2 separate regions of the Homo sapiens genome follow, and region 2 is linked to region 1. Evidence: promoter capture Hi-C in 16 types of primary human blood cells and fetal thymus (Javierre and others, 2016). All regions are on one chromosome and are shown on one strand. Each heading gives the region's core, a stretch centred on a gene start or on the middle of the fragment in contact. The rest is flanking DNA. Distances are from core to core; before and after follow the strand shown. Region 1 holds the start of HABP4 (hyaluronan binding protein 4). Region 2 holds the start of ZNF782 (zinc finger protein 782).

What was found. Contacts are between HindIII fragments. The CHiCAGO score rates a contact against its expected background, and 5 or more counts as called.
Region 2: a contact is called between a fragment that was not itself captured here and the fragment with the promoter of HABP4 in region 1, in 1 of 17 cell types (monocytes). The highest score is 5.4, in monocytes.

The regions. Positions count from the first base shown.
Region 1 is chr9:96,447,327-96,451,525 of GRCh38, reverse strand. HABP4 (hyaluronan binding protein 4) reads right to left here and starts at 1,357. Exons shown (of 8, transcript NM_014282.4): 1 at 898-1,357. The coding sequence starts at 1,246. RefSeq lists silencers at 840-889, 970-1,029, 1,040-1,579 and an enhancer at 1,860-1,939. The HindIII fragment of the contact is 2,057 bases long and covers 1-1,674 here.
Region 2 is chr9:96,851,398-96,855,724 of GRCh38, reverse strand. ZNF782 (zinc finger protein 782) reads left to right here and starts at 1,211. Exons shown (of 6, transcript NM_001001662.3): 1 at 1,211-1,637; 2 at 2,656-2,872; 3 at 3,720-3,778. The coding sequence starts at 3,764. RefSeq lists silencers at 1,439-1,508, 1,789-1,878. The HindIII fragment of the contact is 2,179 bases long and covers 598-2,776 here.

The DNA.
Region 1 (4,199 bases), core at 108-2,607:
ATGGTCAACCTACACATCTTAATCCTAACACTCTGCAAACCTTGGGACCGCTGCCTCATTTCAAGAAAACAGGAAACACAGGTGGAGTGTTGCTGGCTCTGCCACTGACGCAGTTCGGTGAGAGAATGAACTCTGAAGCACCCTCCCCGTCCACAGGCAGCAGGACACCACGCTGCGCACCGGTTTTTCTTGCTAAATAGGGAGTGGGGAACTCCGAATATTCTTGCTGGAAAGGTTAAAAACGCTTTTCTTAAAGCAGCCTTGAGCTATTTATAAGTTGCACATCCCATCAACACCACACGAAGTACTGAAATACGATGCCGGCTGCCTCCTGGAAGCTACCGGACGGAGAAGGGGCGAAGGCGCCAGGCCGGACCGCGCCGGGGACCCCCGCCCGGGCCCCGACGTCACAGGCCGCCCCGCGGTCGCCCAGGCCTCCGGCATCACAGAGGCCCCCAGCCCCGGGACCAGGCGCCCTCCTCCTCCCCACCGCGCTCTCGGGTGGCTCCGACCTCAATCTTGCAGAGGCTGGGCTGGAAGATGAAGGTCCCCGCCAGGTCTGGATGTGGGAGCCCCGGGGTAGCGACCTCAGCCGTTCGCCCCCACACGCCACCCAGACAACCTCCCTCAACTTCGTCCAACTTGCCGTAGAGCCTCAGTGCCAGGGTTCGAGGGCCCTATCCCACCCCAAGCCAGCGTTTCCCCCGGAGCCCCGCACGAGGCTGGCGAGAGCTGGAAGGGGTGTGACCCCTGCCCCTCTCCTCCTACCTTCGGCGGCCACCAGGACCCTCAACTCTCCCTACTGTTCCCGGGCCCCTCCTCCTGAAACCGGCCCCCGGGACCCCAGTCTCACAGCGGGCCGAGCCGTGGTCCGCTAACCCCGCTGTCCCCGCGTACCCGGCGCCTGCAGGCCGCCCCCGGGGCTATCGGGCCGCTGAGCGACGGGCGCCGGGAGGCTCTTGCGCTCCTTCTGCGACTCCCTCCGGCCGCCCGCGCCGGCTCTGTGGCCCGAGGCCCCGGCTGGGCTCCTGCCGCCGCGGGGACCGGCCCCGGCCGCCGCCGCCGCCTCGTCGCGCCTCTTGCGCTGCAGCTGCTGCTGGCGCCGGCGCTCGGCCTCGCGCAGGATGTCGAACGGGTCCGACTCGTCGTCCAGCAGCTGATGGAAGCGGTTGGCCACCACGCAGCCGAAACTCTCCTGCATCGCGGCGCCAGCGGCAGCCACGGGACTCCCCAGAGCGCCCTTCATGCCGCCGCGACCACTGCGGGCCCGGGAGGGCAGCCCACGCGAGCGCGTCTCAGCGAAGCCGGCGGCCAGGACCCATGCCGCCCGCTCCGCCGCCACCGCCCTCCGGGCCCTACCCTGTCCGGCCCCTACCGGCGCCCGCCCCCGCGGCGCCGCCGCCGTCCGCCCCGCTGCGCCAGACAGCCAGTCAGCGCGCGCGGGTGCGCCCCCTTTCCGACACGGCGCGCCTGGAGACCCAATCACCGACCGGCTGCTGTCACGTCACGCGACCTCTGGGCCCCGCCCCGTTCGCTCAGCAGGGAGGGGCGGGGCCCAGGGGCGGAGCTACTGGCTGGTCCAGGCGGCGCCGACGAAGCGGTGGGGTCTCGGCTGTGTGTGCTTTCTCCCGGGACTGCGACCGTATTTGCTATGGGCCACTCTGCTTTGAAGCTTATGTATACATTTAGCCGTGCAACAGCTACATATTGCGCACTTACCGTGTGCCAGGCATTATGTTGTAGGAAATACTAGCTCCGTGTTGTCACAGATCTGAGTCTGTAGATGGAGAAAAAGTGCCCTGAAGGACAGGCGCAGAGCTCTCTACGGGCTGCAGCAAAGGGATCTGACCTAATTGGGAAATGACAGTTAAGCCGAGGGAGAGGGGTGACAAGGGGTTGGAGGAGGAACAGCAAGTGCAGCAGTCTTGAGGTGGGATGTGCACAGCCTATTCAAGCTCAAAGTGGTCTCTATTCTAAGAGCAGTGGGAAGCAAGTTTTGAGCATGAGCAGATTTGGGTTTGAAAAGGCCACCCTACCTGCACTGTGAACTAATAGTTTGGAGGGAAATACAAATGGATGCTGGGAAGCCAAACATGATTGTTGCAAAGCTCCAGGGAAGAGTTGATAGTGACTGGGATTAGGATGGTGGCGGTGGAGGCGAAGAGAGTAGATGGATTCAAAGACTTGGTGATGCGCTAGAGGTGGTGATGAGGGAGAAGAAGATACGGTGACTCTTATTTTCCTGGCTCCAGCATCTGAATGATAGTATTAGTTACCACTGGAAGACACTACTTTAACGGGAATCATTAATTCAGTCTGGGACACGTTGAGGTTTGGATATTTGTTTTCTTTTGAGATATTCAGTTGAGGCCTGGAGCTTAGAGAACGCCGGACTGGACTTCCTCCAGGAAATCTTTGCATAGGCAGCGGTGGAGACACGCTTGGCTGCCTATCCTACAGCCGTTCTTTCCCTCTTACATTTTTCCAGAGCCTGTATTTTGTTCAGGCATCATATTCCCCAGGGGAAGAGGGCCCCTTCCAGCCTCAAACTTGATTAATCATACATTATTCATTGCACCTGATTCCAATTCCTTGCCAGTAATTGGCTTAGGAATAGGCTGTGGGGCAAATCGGGCAGAACAGATCTGAGAAGTATTCTGGGAAAGTTTTTCTTGCACCTAACAAGGGATTGAGAAGGGATCTCCCCCCCTTCTGTTCCCTGGTCTTTGTTCCATGAGAAGACATGATGCCTCGGGTGGCTGTTCCTTAGCGTGGCCATGAGGATGGCAGAGCAGGATAGAGAAAGGCTAGATCCTTGATGAGGTTGAGCTGCCGACTGGACCCACTTGGGAACCTCCCTACTTGAGGCTTATGATGTAAGGTGACAGATGTGATTGCGCTTAGTTGTGTTTGCTTGTTTCATCCGAAAGCATCCAGTTAGAGCATCTTGCCAGGTGCTCTGTGACCAGCTTTTACTTTCCTTAATAGCAAAGGAATTCCTAATCCTAAATGCTGTAAAGTCTGTGTGTTACTCACTTATTGAATTTTGTGTTATTCCCAAGGAGGACAGGGATGATGCCTGTCTTATTCACTGCAGTATGTATTCCCAGTGCTTGGCGTTCTAAGCAGCTATAGAGTAGGTTTTCAGTAAATATTTGTTGAATGATTGAAGAATTTAAGATATTTGGTCATCTCCTTTTGAGTGAGCAAAGATTAATGCCTACGCTTTCTACCCAAAAGAATTAAAAGCAAGTGTTCAAACCAAAACTTGTACATGAGTATTCATAGCAGCACTATTCACAATAGCCAAAAGACAGAAACAAATAATATACATGTCACCCGATGAATGGATAAATAAAATGTGGTACAAAAAATATTATTTGGTCAAAAAGGAAGTATTGATACTTGTTACAACAGGGATGAAACTTGAAAACATTGTGCTAAGTGAAAGACGGACAAAAAGGGCCACACGTTGTATGATTCCATTTATATGAAATGTCCAGAATCTATAGAGACAGAAAGCAGATTGGTGGTCACCAGGTGTGGGGGTTGGGAGTGTTGGAAAGTAACTGCTTAATGGGCATGGGAGTTTCCTGTGGGGTGATGAAATGTTCTGGAACGAGATAGTGGAGATGGTTGCACAAAATTGTAAATTTAGTAAATGTCACTGAGTTGTACACTTTAAAATTGTAAAAATAGTAAATTTTGTGTAAAATTTAGTAAAAATAGTAAATTTTTTGTAAAAATAGTAAATTTATCTTAATGAACCAGAGTAAAAATAGTAAATTTATCTCAATGAACCAGAATCACTACATGCAACAGAGACCACACTTTGAGAAGCACTGCTTCAAGCTAAAGTTATCTTTGGTATCTTTAAACTGCTCATCACCAAACCACAACACCAAGGAATCATGATCATGTGAGAGAAGGGCCTGTCGTCTTCCCACTGGGCATCTGGAGTTAGCCTGCTCCCCTGTTTTCTTCTTATCTTCCTTACAGCATAACCAGCCACTGTAAGTTCTTAAAGCATGCCCTGTGAGCACTGCCGCCTCATTTCCAAGTCACAAATGCCCCAAATGGTTGTAAGAGAACCAACTCTCGTTGCTTCAGGATTCAGAACATCTTTAGAACTGAAATAGAGATGAGTAATCCTTACCTGGTATTAGATGGCCACAAGTTTCTTTTTTTTCTTTTTTTTC
Region 2 (4,327 bases), core at 438-2,937, 400 kb before region 1:
GCACATGCATGGTTATAGCAGCACAATTTGCGATTGCAAAAACGTGGAACCAACCCAAATACCCATCAATCAACAACTGGATAAAGAAACTGTGGTATGTATCTGATGATATACTACTTAGCCATAAAAAGGAATGAATTAATGGCATTTGCAGCGACCTGAATGAGATTGGAGACTATTATTCTAAGTGAAGTAACTCAGGAGTGGAAAAACCAAACATCGTAGTTCTCACTCATAAGTGGGAGCTAAGCTATGAGAATGCAAAGGCATAAGAATAACACAATGGGCTTTGGGGACTTGGCGGGGAATGGCGGAGGGCAGCGGGGCAAGGGATAAAAGACTACAAATGGGGTGCAGTGTATACTGCTCAGGTGATGGGTGCACCAAAATCTCACAAATCGCCACTAAAGAACTTACTCATGTAACCAAACACCATCTGTTCCCCAATAACCTACGGAAATAAAAAACAATCAGCAAAAAGCAAGAAAATTCGTTAATGCGCATGGAAACCTAAGATAATTAACATTAAATTTAAATATGTTGAATCAATAAGAGAATTCGGCAAGAAGCAATGTTAAGGGATAAAAACCAAAAGCTTTTCTCTAACACCTGCAGCACCGGGCTCGACCCGCCTTAGAACCCTCACGCCTGGGGGCGCCAGGACAGGGCTCACAGGTCAATGGGTCGGGTAGGCTGTAAAGAGACAAGGTGGAGGTTCCAGGTTGAAAATGTATAAAATTGTAAAGTAAATTCAAAGTTATATCATTTCAATGCTAAATACTTCAGTAGTGATCCCTTTTTTTAAAAAAAAAATTTCTACAAAATTCTTAATTTTTTTTCACAGTTCACAAAAGTAATGGTACTTTTTTTCAATATTTGCAATTCCCAATCCATATTCAGCTTCCCAATTGTCTCCGAAAGTCTTACGGAAAAAAAAAATGTTGGTTCAACCGGGAACCAATGGAGGGCTACTCTTTGTATTTGTCAGTAGCGTTTAAGTTTTAACCTTTAACTTCTCCCTGTTCTTGGAGAGCCTGAGCGGGAGACTTCATAAAAACTCCATCCCCGCCAATTCTGAATCGCCGAAACGTGAGGAGTCACGTCGAAGGCGGACGCAAGAGCTTATGGGAAATGTAGTCCTGAATGAGTCTGGTTCGCCGCGCAGCACTCTGGGATGGGGCTCCTGGGCTCCTTCTGCGCCTGTGCAGCCAGAGCCCCGCCTCCTCATTTGGGTTCTCGAGACTCCCGGGAAGCGGTTTGGGAAGCTCGGGGGTCGGCTCGGAAAGTAGAGGGGGCGCAGCTGGGGCGGGAGGACAGCGTTTGTGCCCGGAAGCGGGAGAGGAAGCGGGAAGTTTGTGGGATCCCCGCCCCCTGTGTCAGTGGATGCGACCGGGCGGGCCCTCGGCCTTCCCGGCCGCTGGAGAGGGACTTCGGCCGCTGGCTCCCGGGGCGGCTGAGGCTGAGCGTTGGTCCGGAGCAGGTGCCGGGTGCGGGCCGCGGTGTGCGGGACCGGAGCCCGGCGCGAGCGGCGGCGGGGGTGGGGAAAGCGCATTTGTAACGCGGGCGACAACGTGCCCGAAATCCCCGGACGGTGGGTCTGCATCGAGACCCCGAGCTCTGGAGCTGGAAAAACCCGGGTAAGTTCCATCTCTGTCAACTGGAAGCCGAGGCGAATGTAGGGACGTGGATGAGAGTCAGGTTTCTCATCTGAAAGTGAGGGTATTAATAATGACTGCTTCATGGCGTTGGTTTAAAACTTTAAGTCACCACCTGTAAAGCAAACAGCCGACTGTAGGCTACTAAGCCATGAGCGGACTGCTGCTGTTATATTTAGAAGACACTTTGTTCCATTCGTTGGGTGCCTATGTATACCTCACAACCACATCTGCATTAAATATAACTGAGGCTCAGGTCACAAGCTAGCAGTGAGGGAGCTGGGGTTCAAAGGCAGGTGTGATTTATTTCCCGTTTCAGGCGCTAATATCACACCTGCCTAAAACCAGCATTGCAGCCTTCACAGCACTTAGCAGAATGTCATGTCCCCAAATACTCAGGGAGTGGATGTAGATGGAATCTTACCATGTGTCAAATGTAGTCTGGATTTCTGGTGTGTCTTCAGATCTCTTGGGTCAGACAGGTTCCTGGCCCCTTCTGCATTGTCAGGGTGTCTCTCTTTTAAGTCTGATGTAAAGAATTCTAAGAGTCAGATTTTTGCCACTAACATGGTTTCTCAGGTCAGGTCGCAGGCTCCTTGAACAGAGCAGCCCTTGCGAGGTGGGAAGCAGGGGTCTCTGTGAACAGTTTTACCTGGAAGAGAACACCTCTCAGACCTAGGCCTCCCTCCCGAGCTTCAGAGCAGAGGCAGAAGAGCCCACAGAGGAGCAGATCCTAGATGTGTATGGTCAGAAGCAGTTCTTGATCCTCCTTCCCAGAATGAGCCAGACTTGGTGAAGCCTCCAGAAGCCACCACACAATGGGTGACAGTGGGTGGTTTGGGCCAGCTTTGAGAAGAGCAAAATGGGCTAGGTGGTGGCCAGGGACAGGCTGCTCAGGAAAGGCCACATCATTGCATAGGTCTGAGGGTAGGGGTAACCGGAGATTCTGTCCCCAGATCCCAAAGTAGCCCCCAGTCGCTTTGTTCTCCACTCTTTACAGATGCCATACTGCTGTTAACATATGTGACACTGGAGACTTTGTCCCTACCTCATAGAATCCCATGCATGATGATACATGAAGGGTTTTCCGTGGCTATCTACTTCTGATTCTTTTGAAAGCTTTAAAGACATTGGGCATGAAAGGTTCAGTGAGTTTCCGGGGATCCCTCGTTTGTGGTAGAGCCAGGAGGAAAACAGTTCCGTTCATTCTTTCACAGGTGAGTCACCAAAAGCATCTTATCCAAAGGGCCTTTTGAGAAATACATCCCAGTTAAAACATCTAAAACTCTTTGCCTTAAAGTATCTCATCTCTTTTATAAGACTTTCTGTGGATTGTCTATACCAAGGGTAAATAATATTACTAAGAAAAATAGTTAAATGATGCACACTGAATATTTTTCTGCTAAGTTAATTTTGTGTTTTGGAGACAGAGTCTCATCCTGTTGTCCAGGCAGGAGTGCAGTGGCACAAACATGGCTCACTGCAGCCTCTACCTCCTGGGCTCAAGTGATCCTCCTGCCTCAGCCTCCCAAGTAGCAGGGACCACAGGCGCATGCCACCACACCTGGCTAATTTTTTAAGTTTTTATTTTCTGTAGAGACAAGGTCATGCCATGTTGCCCAGGTTGGTCTTGAACTCCTGAGCTCAAGCTGTCCTCCCTCTTTGGCCTCCCGAAGTGCTGGGGTTACAGGCTTGAACCACAGTACCTGCTAGGTTAATTTTAATGAAAGAATAGTGTCTTACCCTGTGGTGTACTTTAATTCAACTAATCCTGTATTGTCTTTATTTTTGTGTGTGTGTTAGAAGCACATGTGCATTGTTAAATCAATTGGGAAAAGTTTATGTTCACTCAATAAAAAACAGCAGTTTAAGCCCCATAATTATTTCAGAGTTGTCGTAGACAGTGCCACCTCTACGTGGTGCTTCTCATGCCTTTTCAAGGCCTGAAGGGCCCTGTTACCTTAGGAAGGCTGCTCTCCAACTGGGTTGCTGAGATTTGGGGAGGCTAATCTAGGAGCTGTGAGGTAGGCGAGACCGTGTGACATCCTCTTTCTGTCCCCCCAGCTGAGGCTTTACAGTTCTCTATACTCTCCCAAGAGCCACAGAAAATGAACACATTTCAGGTAAGCTTTTTATTCATTCCCCACTTTGTATTGTAATGGATTTTATGAGGTTTAGATAGGCCCTTGCATTAAATGGAAAAGGAGAAATAGATAAGTAAATCTTGAGGGAAAATATATACAGTTTCACCATGAACTCTGCTGTCAGCTTTGTCAGGGTTAGTAGGTTCCCTCCAGTTACCAGTTTGCCAAGATGTCATGTTAGTCATGAATGCACATGAATTATATTAAATACTTTTTATGTATCAGAATAAATCTATAGCTGTGTCCTTGAATCTGTAAATATTGTGAATAATATAATGGATTTTCTAAAAGTAACTTGAATTCCTGTATAGACCCTAGTTGCTAATGAGTGTAGTAAGTTGCTTCTTACATGTTTTCCTAGCACTTTATGGTAATAATTTAGGATTTTTATTTCTGTGTTCACAAATTGGATTAAACTATACTTTCCTGTTTCCCTGTTCAGTTAGGGTATCATGGTTGTCTCATGAAAGGAAATGGGGCACTTTTTCTTGTTTCTTCTTTTCTAATAATTTAGAAAAATGAGAACAT